Linked DNA regions of Homo sapiens: region 2 is linked to region 1. The links are contacts of gene promoters, found by promoter capture Hi-C in blood cells and fetal thymus (Javierre and others, 2016). All regions are on one chromosome and are shown on one strand. The core of a region is centred on a gene start or on the middle of the fragment in contact, and the rest is flanking DNA. Distances in the headings are between cores, read along the strand shown.

Region 1 (4,547 bases), core at 1-2,500:
TCCTTCCCACCTCAAGGCCTTCTCGACCTTTTTGTTTTACTTCCTATATTAAGCAGGTTGATGGCTTGCTTTCTGGAAGTGGGCCAGTAGGACCAATGGGTCCTGGGAGGGATGACAGAAGAGATCCAGCAGCGATCCTTACCCTTCATAATTCCTTGATTATGGTGTGAACATTTCCATCCATCTCCAGGGTGCTTCAAATCATTATCCACTGGATACCAGGCTGCTCCAGGAAGCAGGGGTGAGGATGATTCAGCTGACTTTCTACTGCTGGTCCCAGCTCAGTGGGTGCTTTTAAGAGTGTACATCGTCTAGTGAACACCTACCACACGGCAGGCCCTGGGCTCATAAAAACGAACGTTTACGGACAGCTTATTGTACAGCAAAAGCTGACCTCATCCTCAAATCAGCCCGACGGGGTAGATGCCACTGTTCCCCGCATTTTGCAGGTGGGGCGCCTGCCCTCAGCCACCACAGTCATTTGCCCAAGATCGCAGCGAGGCTAAGCGGACGGCCTGGGGGTTCACCTGCACGGCCTGGGGGTTCACCTGCGCGGCCTGGGGGTTCACCTGCACGGCCTGGGGGTTCACCTGCGCGGCCTGGGGGTTCACCTGCGCGGCCTGGGGGTTCACCTGCACGGCCTGCCTCCCAGCATGGGCCGCGGCCTCCGCCATGGGCTCCGTGCGGTGGTTTCTCGGGTACACGCTCGTGAGCCCGGCTGATGCGCCACATGCCTTTGCCCCGCTCAATGTGTCCCTTCAGCCAGGCTTGGTCCCGGGCGACCCACTGTCTTCCCCGCAGCTTCTTCTCCCTGGGACCCCGCACACGGGCGAGCCCTCCGTCTAGGGAGGCGGGCGAGGCCGCCAGGCGTCTGAGGCCCCCGCCAGGTGAGTGCGGCCTTCGGGTGTCCGGCCGGTCTAGGGAACCGGGGACTCACCTGAGACGCCGGGGCCTCCCCGCTCCCAGCAGAACTCGCGGGCCGAGGACGCCTCTGGGGCGGCACCGCGTCCCGAGAGCCCCAGAAGTCGGCGGGGAAGTTCCCCCGGTGGGGGGCGTTTCGGGCCTCCCGGACGGCTCTCGGCCCCGGAGCCCGGTCGCAGGAGCGCGGGCCCGGGGGCGGGAACGCGCCGCGGCCGCCTCCTCCTCCCCGGCTCCCGCCCGCGGCGGTGTTGGCGGCGGCGGTGGCGGCGGCGGCGGCGCTTCCCCGGCGCGGAGCGGCTTTAAAAGGCGGCACTCCACCCCCCGGCGCACTCGCAGCTCGGGCGCCGCGCGAGCCTGTCGCCGCTATGCCTCCGCGCGCGCCGCCTGCGCCCGGGCCCCGGCCGCCGCCCCGGGCCGCCGCCGCCACCGACACCGCCGCGGGCGCGGGGGGCGCGGGGGGCGCGGGGGGCGCCGGCGGGCCCGGGTTCCGGCCGCTCGCGCCGCGTCCCTGGCGCTGGCTGCTGCTGCTGGCGCTGCCTGCCGCCTGCTCCGCGCCCCCGCCGCGCCCCGTCTACACCAACCACTGGGCGGTGCAAGTGCTGGGCGGCCCGGCCGAGGCGGACCGCGTGGCGGCGGCGCACGGGTACCTCAACTTGGGCCAGGTGAGTGCGGCCGGCCCCGCGCGCCCAAAACTTTCCCGGCGGCCTCCGGCGCGCGCGAGGGGGGCGCCTCCGCAGTCCTGTCCGCCCGGCCCCGGCCCCGCGCGCGCGTGGGAAGGCTCCGGGACCGCTTGGGGACGGCGGGCGGCCGGGGCGCCCTGCGGGGGGGGGTGTCGCCCGGGGGGGCGCGCGCGGGACACTCGGCGGGGTGGGGGGGACTGGGGTCCCGCGTGGGCGCCCACGCAGGTCCGGCGCGCCGACCGCAAGTCCCCCGGCAGTGCCGCCCAACCCCGCGCTCGGAAGTGTGGCCTCAGAAGCCGGGGCGGCGCGGACACCTGCCGGGCTCCGGGGGAGTCTGGGCTGCCTCAGGCGTCGCGCGCCGTCCGCCGCTGGGTCCTGGGCGCCCACCCGGCTCTCCCCCGCGGGGGAGCGGCCCCTCTGCCCTCGACGGGCGGCGCGAGCTCCGGACCCGGTGCGCGCGCCAAGGCGGCCGCGGCCGCTGCTTGGGTGACATGAGCGTGGCCCGGCGTCTCGGGGACTCGCGCTCCCTCGGTGTCCGCGGCTCCCGGGGGTAGATGGCCGGGAGCCTGCACCCTGGAGCCCGGCCGCCGTCGGAGAGGCCTTGGGACAGCGCAGGGCCGGGGGTCCTGGGTTTAAAACCTCTCCAGGAGCGGAGGGAGGGCGCTTTGTGTGGGGGCTTCTGCCGCGGTTCTGATGGCCGAGCGGTGTGACCTTTGGCAAGTCGCTCCCCTGACAAGCTCCTTTGCAGTCAGTGGCAATGTCTACACCGCTGGGTTGTCGGAAAGATCTAATGCTGCGTTGCCACAGAGCCTGGACCGGGGCCTGACCCTCACCGGCCCCCACGGGGCCCTCCCAGCCCCGCAGCCCTCGGCTGTCCCCTCTTCTGTCAGTGAGCAAGCAGGCCACGCCCTGGGCACAAAGGCGGCATTACCCTCAAAGGACCTCCCGGCGGGTCCCTTTTTCCTCTCTCAACCAGCTACCGGGCTGAGGGGCGGTGAGTTGGGGTTGATCCATGTTTATGGCTCCTGGAGAGGCCGTTATTTTGAGGTCACACCAGGGGACCTCTCAGTGCAGTTAACAAATCTACAAACTACACACTCAGAGGGTTAAGTGAAGTGACAGGGAAGCACCGACTCATAACTCTAAACCTTAGTGCCAGGCAGTGTTAAATGTAGTTTCATCGTTATCCGTGGCAGAAGCCAGCAAGGTGTGGTGGCGTCCCTGATTGATAGAAATGACATTAGTTCTGCATCCCAAGCCCCACGTTGATGTACTATTAGGTGTGTGGCTGGAGGGGTGGATTCCACCATTCGAATGAAGGAATCTTCACAAGGCAGGTTCGAGTTTACTGAAAGAATGCTAGCACATCTTTGGAGACCTTTTAAATATATGCATATATATATATAAAATGTTACATATATACACATATACACACATACATATACGCACATGTATATCCATATAGATATTTAGTTTTTTTAACCACTCAAGGCCCTCCAAACATCCTGTGATTTCAGATTTTGCCGTCGGGTAGCACTGACTTCGTTTGTCTCTGTAGTTCTTGACTCTCCCTGGCTGATTGTCCAGGCTGAAGAAGGTGTTCCTCATGTTTGCGTAGTGCCCCTGGCTCCTGCCACACTTCGCTGCTGTGCCCAGGTGGCCCAGCAATTTGTCTTCAGCTAAAAGTGACTCTTAAACTACGCGATAAATTACAAAGTGCCTGGGTTTTGGGATTCTAAAATTAAATGAGCAGAATGGAGCTGAAATTGAGCTGTGAGCTCACACTGCAAGAGAGAGGCAGAGAGGCACAGGTAACTCTCCCCGGAAATTTCTATCTGTGGGAATAAAAATGCCTAACCCTTGGCCATGCCGCCCCTTTGAGACAACCTCTGTCAGGCTCACTGAGTTCTTAGTGCAGTCTGCTCTCCTGGTTTTGCGGATGGGAGAGAAGATTCGCCCCGATGCACACTCCGTACCCAGGATATTCTGGGGAGTTAATCGGGGTCTCCCCAGCTCTGTCTAGTGCAGCCAGCATGAATGCCACGCAGCCCGGTCACTCAGGCATGGTGCTGGCAGTGGCACTGCGGTGACATTCACTAACAGAGATTAGCTGGTTGGGGATAGGAGCTGTCTCAGAGGCTTGTGTGTGATTACTCACGGAGGGCCTATTACTCTTTATTCCAAAACGAGCTTTTCTTTCCCCCCTCTAAGTGCACTGCTAATGTGGAAAAGGCCTGGAGCATTTGAGCCTCTACCCACTCAATAAGAACTCTTTGAAAACCTTATTTGCCTTTTTTTCAGCCAGGAGAATTTGTGACTCATAAATAAGATGTAGATATTATTAGCTTTGACTTACAGATGAGTAAATGGGGGTGAAGTAAGGGAAGGAAGCTGTTTGTGTTCACATGGTACGCATATGTCACCTCTGACAGTTCCATCCCTGCTCATTTGCTTCTGCCGTATTCTCTGTTCTGAGGTCTCCTTTGTGAAACTCTTTCTCCAAGCCCTTAATGGGCAATTAGTGTTATGTTCTGTACTTGCCTGAATCGCAGCCCTGGTTTTCTCCCAGATAGTCGCTGTGCTCAAGGTTCTTGCTTGTTTTACTTTCTTCCATACAACTAATAACTGGATTCAGTTTATTTCACATGGCCCAGAGGTAATTTAGACTGGTGGTTATTCACCTTTCTTGTGTCATGGCTCCCTTTCAGCACCTGATAAAGGCTGTGGATCCTCTCCATTGTAAAATATGCATCACCAGGGACAAGACAAGACAGCCTCTCTTTGTCCCTCTACTCATCAGTCCAGGTAACACCACAGGATTTCAAAGGGAATAAAAATGTGGAAGTGTCCAATGTCATTATCGGCAGATGACATAACTACATGGATAATCCAAAAGAGCCTGGAGATTAACCCCTGGAGCTAATAAGGGAGTTGATCAGCAACAGC
Region 2 (4,547 bases), core at 638-3,137, 150 kb before region 1:
TGCCTTGATAAAGGTAAGATAAATGAAACGCTGAACTATGCTAATCTGGAATTTGTTTTTATTTGCCTGAAATATATTTTTTTCTGTGAAAAAATTAAAACGTACTTAAGCCAGGAGAATGAATTATACAGTGATTGAAAATCCATTTAATTCCTATGACTTTTGTTTTGTATTGCCCAAGTCAAACTACATCACTTGTATCTCCAGCCCAAATGTAGTCTGCCTTGAAAAGTCTTTCAGCTGTGACTGCAGGAAGTGGGAGTGTTTTTATTGTTAGCTAATTGCTGTGACTGCAGGAAGTGGGAGTGTTTCTGTTGTTGGCTAATTGAAGTTATTAGGCTCAGCTTCAGTCATGTGTAAGTTTTGCAGTGTAATACATATGTAGTCTGGTCTGTATATATGAAAATTTGAATTAAACTGCAGAATGTTTATGTCTAGTTATGGTTTAAATTTTCTTAGTAGTATATAAAAGGTAAGAGTACTGAAAAATTAATAAAATTGCAAGTTAAGAAATACTGTGGGCCTGTTTTCTATATTAAATATAATCTTGAATAATCATTACAACTTACCTTTATTGTTAAGAATAACATTTTTATCTTTCAGGGCATTACTCCATTCTAACAGAGTCATAATTGGCTGGTTTATTGACACAGTGGAAATATATAAATGTTTTTGAGTATAGATCTGTTATAGACCCTTTATCGGGGAAAAAAAACTCAGTTATTCAAAAAGATTTTTACTCAAGCTTGCTTTTGAAACATTTAAAAACTTAGCATTTTTTCTTTCAAATGTGGGTATCTGAGTTACTGCTTTTTAAACACTTGTGTGTATTATCCAGAAGACTGTTAACCACCATATCATATCTAGAAGCTATAAAATATCTGCATATTTCATTCAGCAGATGATTTATTGATTTCAGTTTACCTGAAAGGTTTCAGTGATCACTTGCTGCTGTTTAAAGCACAGTCCTTTTCTTAGTTGAGTGACAGTTCCATCTCTCGTCGCTAGGTGGCGCATCCCCATTACATTTGCTTCCCCATTCTAGTTCCAGAAACAGAAAAAAAAACTGGTTTTGTTTTGTTTTGTTTACGAGGAACTTGTCACAGAGCATGAGCAGTTCTTCAGGATGGGAGTAACCCGGTTTATGTGGACCTTTCTTTCTGAGAGCAAAGACACACTTTTTGTATCCGTTAAACTGTTGATTGAGCAGGTGTTTCTTTAGAAGACGATCTTTTCTTCAAGAAGTAGCCCCTTTGCTAACTATAATAAAAATGTCTCCTGAGTCTCCTTATGTAGCTCTGTGTAGAAGAGAATCTAATACTTCCCTGTTGAGCAACCATGCAAGGTGGAACCAGGGAGTCGGTGGGAAGTTAGTAGGAAGTATGCATTGCCCTTGGTGGAAATAGGTAACAGCATCCTTGATTAACCATTTTTGTGGCTCTGGGGCCTGAATTAGATAATGAAGCTGCAGTGTCTGAGAGTAAAGCTCAAAGATTCAGAATCCATGAAAGGAGGCATAAATGAACTTGTTCCCAAATCCTAAAAAGTTTGCACAAGGGCATAGCCCTTGGAACCTGAAGGATGTAAGCCAGTCAGGAATGCTTCAGATCAAGGACTTTGATAGAGCTGATGGCCTGAGACAGAACTAGCAGGAAATACGAAGAGATTTTCAAATAGTACAAACAAATTTATGAACGATGAACTCATACACAGCCCCAAAAAGAAACTGCAAAGTAAAACTATACTTTCAAAGGGCACTAGGGAGTGTGGGTGCAATCTCTTGTAGCAAATCCCATGGGCCTCTGCTGGCAGCAAAATGCCATGTTGGAGTCTGACCTTCAGGTTCTATTCCTCTGCTGTCTTAGATTTTCAGGATTGCTATAACAATACCATAAACGGCGTGGCTTAACAACAGAAATTTATTTCTTAAGAGTTCTGGAAGCTAGAAAGTCCAAGATGAAGGTGCTGGTAAATTTGGTATCTGGTGAGGGCCTTCTTCCTCATAACATCTTCTCACATCCTCACATGGTAGAGGCAGGGAAGATCTCTCTGGGGCCTCTTCTATAAGGGCACTAATCCCAATCCTGAGAGCTCCACCCTCATGACCTGATCACCTCCCAAAGGTCCCACCTCCTGATACCATCATTACAGTGGTGAGGATTTCCACATGTGAATTTGGGGTGGAAAAGACACAAATACTCAGTCCATCATGTGTGAGCTATGGGCTCTGACCCAGGGATATGATTAGATAGCCATCCTGTTCACACAGGTTGGGAACCATATCAGTCAACCATCCTCTATTGATAGTTCTCTAGACACTCAGAATTTATCACTGCAGCAGGCCATCTGTCATGATTTCCCCTTAAGAATCTCTACCTTGCTTTGTCAGCTCTCTTCCATTTACCCCAGTAATGCCTCACGGGAAGGTGCTGGGTTATTTATGTCTACCCCCTCCATTGTCCCTAGAACAATGCCGTGCACACAGAGGCTCTCATTTATTTGCTGAGTTAATGCCACGGGTGTCCTCAAGGTTTTGAAGGGACTGTGTACAATTCCAGGGACTGGCAGTTGAGGTGGCTGCAAGGAGATAATATATAGAAATTGGCTTCAAGTAAATATTTGTCTGTAACACCATGTTGATCTGATTTCTGCAAATTGCTGAGGAACAACTGGTTTATGGTGCGTATAAAAAGATTTTTTCAAAGATCTTATGCTTCAAGATTTTAAAATGTAAAAATACCTTCTCTATGCCACACAACTTCATTTCTCTGTACTTTTTTTTTAATGCCTTATGCCAGACTTGCATTTATTTTGGGCATATATCATCAGCTACGGAATATGCAAATGATTTTAATTCATCCTGTAAGCAATGAGTGGAAAATGAGCTGTACCTGATGCAGCTTCTCAAATACAACATTGAAAAAGCCTGAAAATGAAGGCACTACATAAGTAGAATATGCATAAAAAGGAAAAAAAAAAACACCCAGGAAAAATGGAGGCAGATTCCTCCGCTCCTGCTCTAAAGCTTCCCCTCTGTTCTGCCCTTTTGGTAGAGTATGAAGTGTCACATGAATGTTAGGGGGTAGACACATTTTTTAAACTTTTATTGTATATACATCGTATGCGTTTCTTTCATGGTAAGAGCACTTAAAATCTACTCTTAGCAAATTTATAATATGATAACTGTAGTGATGCTATGCACTAGACCTATTGGTTAATTTTGTAACCTAGGCAAATTTGATTTAAATTCTTTTAAATGTATTGAAATTGTCTTCCATAAACACAACACTTTTATGCAAAATACGCTTTGATGGAGACACGTGGACATAATTTACTAAGGCTCCACGAAGGCAGGGCTCTGGTTCTCTGCTGTAGCTCAGCTCTGAGAGCCCTGCCGGCCATGCAGCAGGTGCACAGTGACTAGGAGTTTGATGAATGAGTAAGGAGGAATTGCTGGGAGTAAGCTAAACACCTAAAAGTATTGCTGAGAATTTTTAAAGTGGTAGAGTGCAGCTGGATTGCAGCATCTCCCTTCTCAAATACTTAAATGATAAACACACTGTAGGAAAAGCCAGCACCTCCTTCCTGCCCAAAACCAGCAAACAAATGAAAACTCCACAGCGAACAAGCAAAAGGATACAGCCAAATGCCAAAAACGTCAAAAAATTGTGAATACAGGGAAAAAAAATTATTGCTCAGGTGTGTAAGATTACTCCCGCAAATGGCCCTGCTGGCGCAACAAAACTCAGAAAGTCTCACTGGAGGCCAGACGTGGTGGCTCACACCTGCAATCCCAGCACTTTGAGAGTCCGAGGCGGGCAGATCACCTGAGGCTAGGAGTTCGAGACCAGCCTGGCCAACATGGTGAAACCCCCGTCTCTACTAAAAATACAAAACAATTAGGTGGGCGTGGTGGCAGGTGCCTGTAATCCCAGCTACTCAGGAGGCTGAGGCAGGAGAATTGCTTGAACCTGGGAGGCAGAGGCTGCTGTGAGCCGAGATCATACCATTGCACTCCAGCCTGGGCAACAAGAGCGAAACTCTGTCTCCAAAAAAAAAAAAGGTGGGGGGGTCTCACTGGTGAGGAAAAACAGGTTAATTCGGAGAAAGAGAGGTATCTATATCTTTCTCCTGTTACTGCTGGGGGAAGTGAAAAGGGCTGCTGGGAAGAGACCAGTGAGAGAGGGCTCGTGAACAAACAGGAGGGACTCTGATGGGTTCAGGGGTTCCCTGCTGAACCAGATAAAGGATCCAAAGCCTGGGGTGACCCCCAGGGGTCATTGCATCATTCCCTGGGGAGGAAACTTTGATTCAGGACATTTAGAAAATCCTAGTCAAGAAACCAGAGACCAGATATTCTAGCAAAGATATAGTCTCAGCTGAGCTTTTCCCTGCCTCACTCCTAGCTATCAGGGCACGGAATGTAGAATAGAACACAAAATACAACTTGCAAAATGCTCGAAGAGAAAACCAAGGGAATTTGTTCACATATTATGAAGTTGTCCTTTTACATGAGAACAAAATGAAATGACTCACCACCCACTAGA

The links. The method cuts DNA at HindIII sites, captures the fragments that hold promoters and counts their contacts. A CHiCAGO score of 5 or more calls a contact.
Region 2: a contact is called between a fragment that was not itself captured here and the fragment with the promoter of PCSK6 in region 1, in 1 of 17 cell types (megakaryocytes). The highest score is 5.7, in megakaryocytes.

Annotation. Positions count from the first base shown.
Region 1 is chr15:101,486,410-101,490,956 of GRCh38, reverse strand. It overlaps PCSK6 (proprotein convertase subtilisin/kexin type 6), which reads left to right and starts at 1,250. Exons shown (of 22, transcript NM_002570.5): 1 at 1,250-1,583. The coding sequence starts at 1,287. It overlaps LOC124903566, which reads left to right and starts at 1,804. Exons shown (of 2, transcript XM_047433427.1): 1 at 1,804-4,547. LOC107987228 (a long non-coding RNA gene) reads right to left here and starts at 1,190. Exons shown (of 2, transcript XR_001751730.2): 1 at 633-1,190; 2 at 1-569. The HindIII fragment of the contact is 36,171 bases long and covers 1-4,547 here.
Region 2 is chr15:101,637,814-101,642,360 of GRCh38, reverse strand. It overlaps TM2D3 (TM2 domain containing 3), which reads left to right. Exons shown (of 6, transcript NM_078474.3): 6 at 1-513. Among named protein-coding and RNA genes, the nearest start is that of TM2D3, 12 kb to the left of the region's middle. RefSeq lists a silencer at 919-1,078. The HindIII fragment of the contact is 2,280 bases long and covers 748-3,027 here.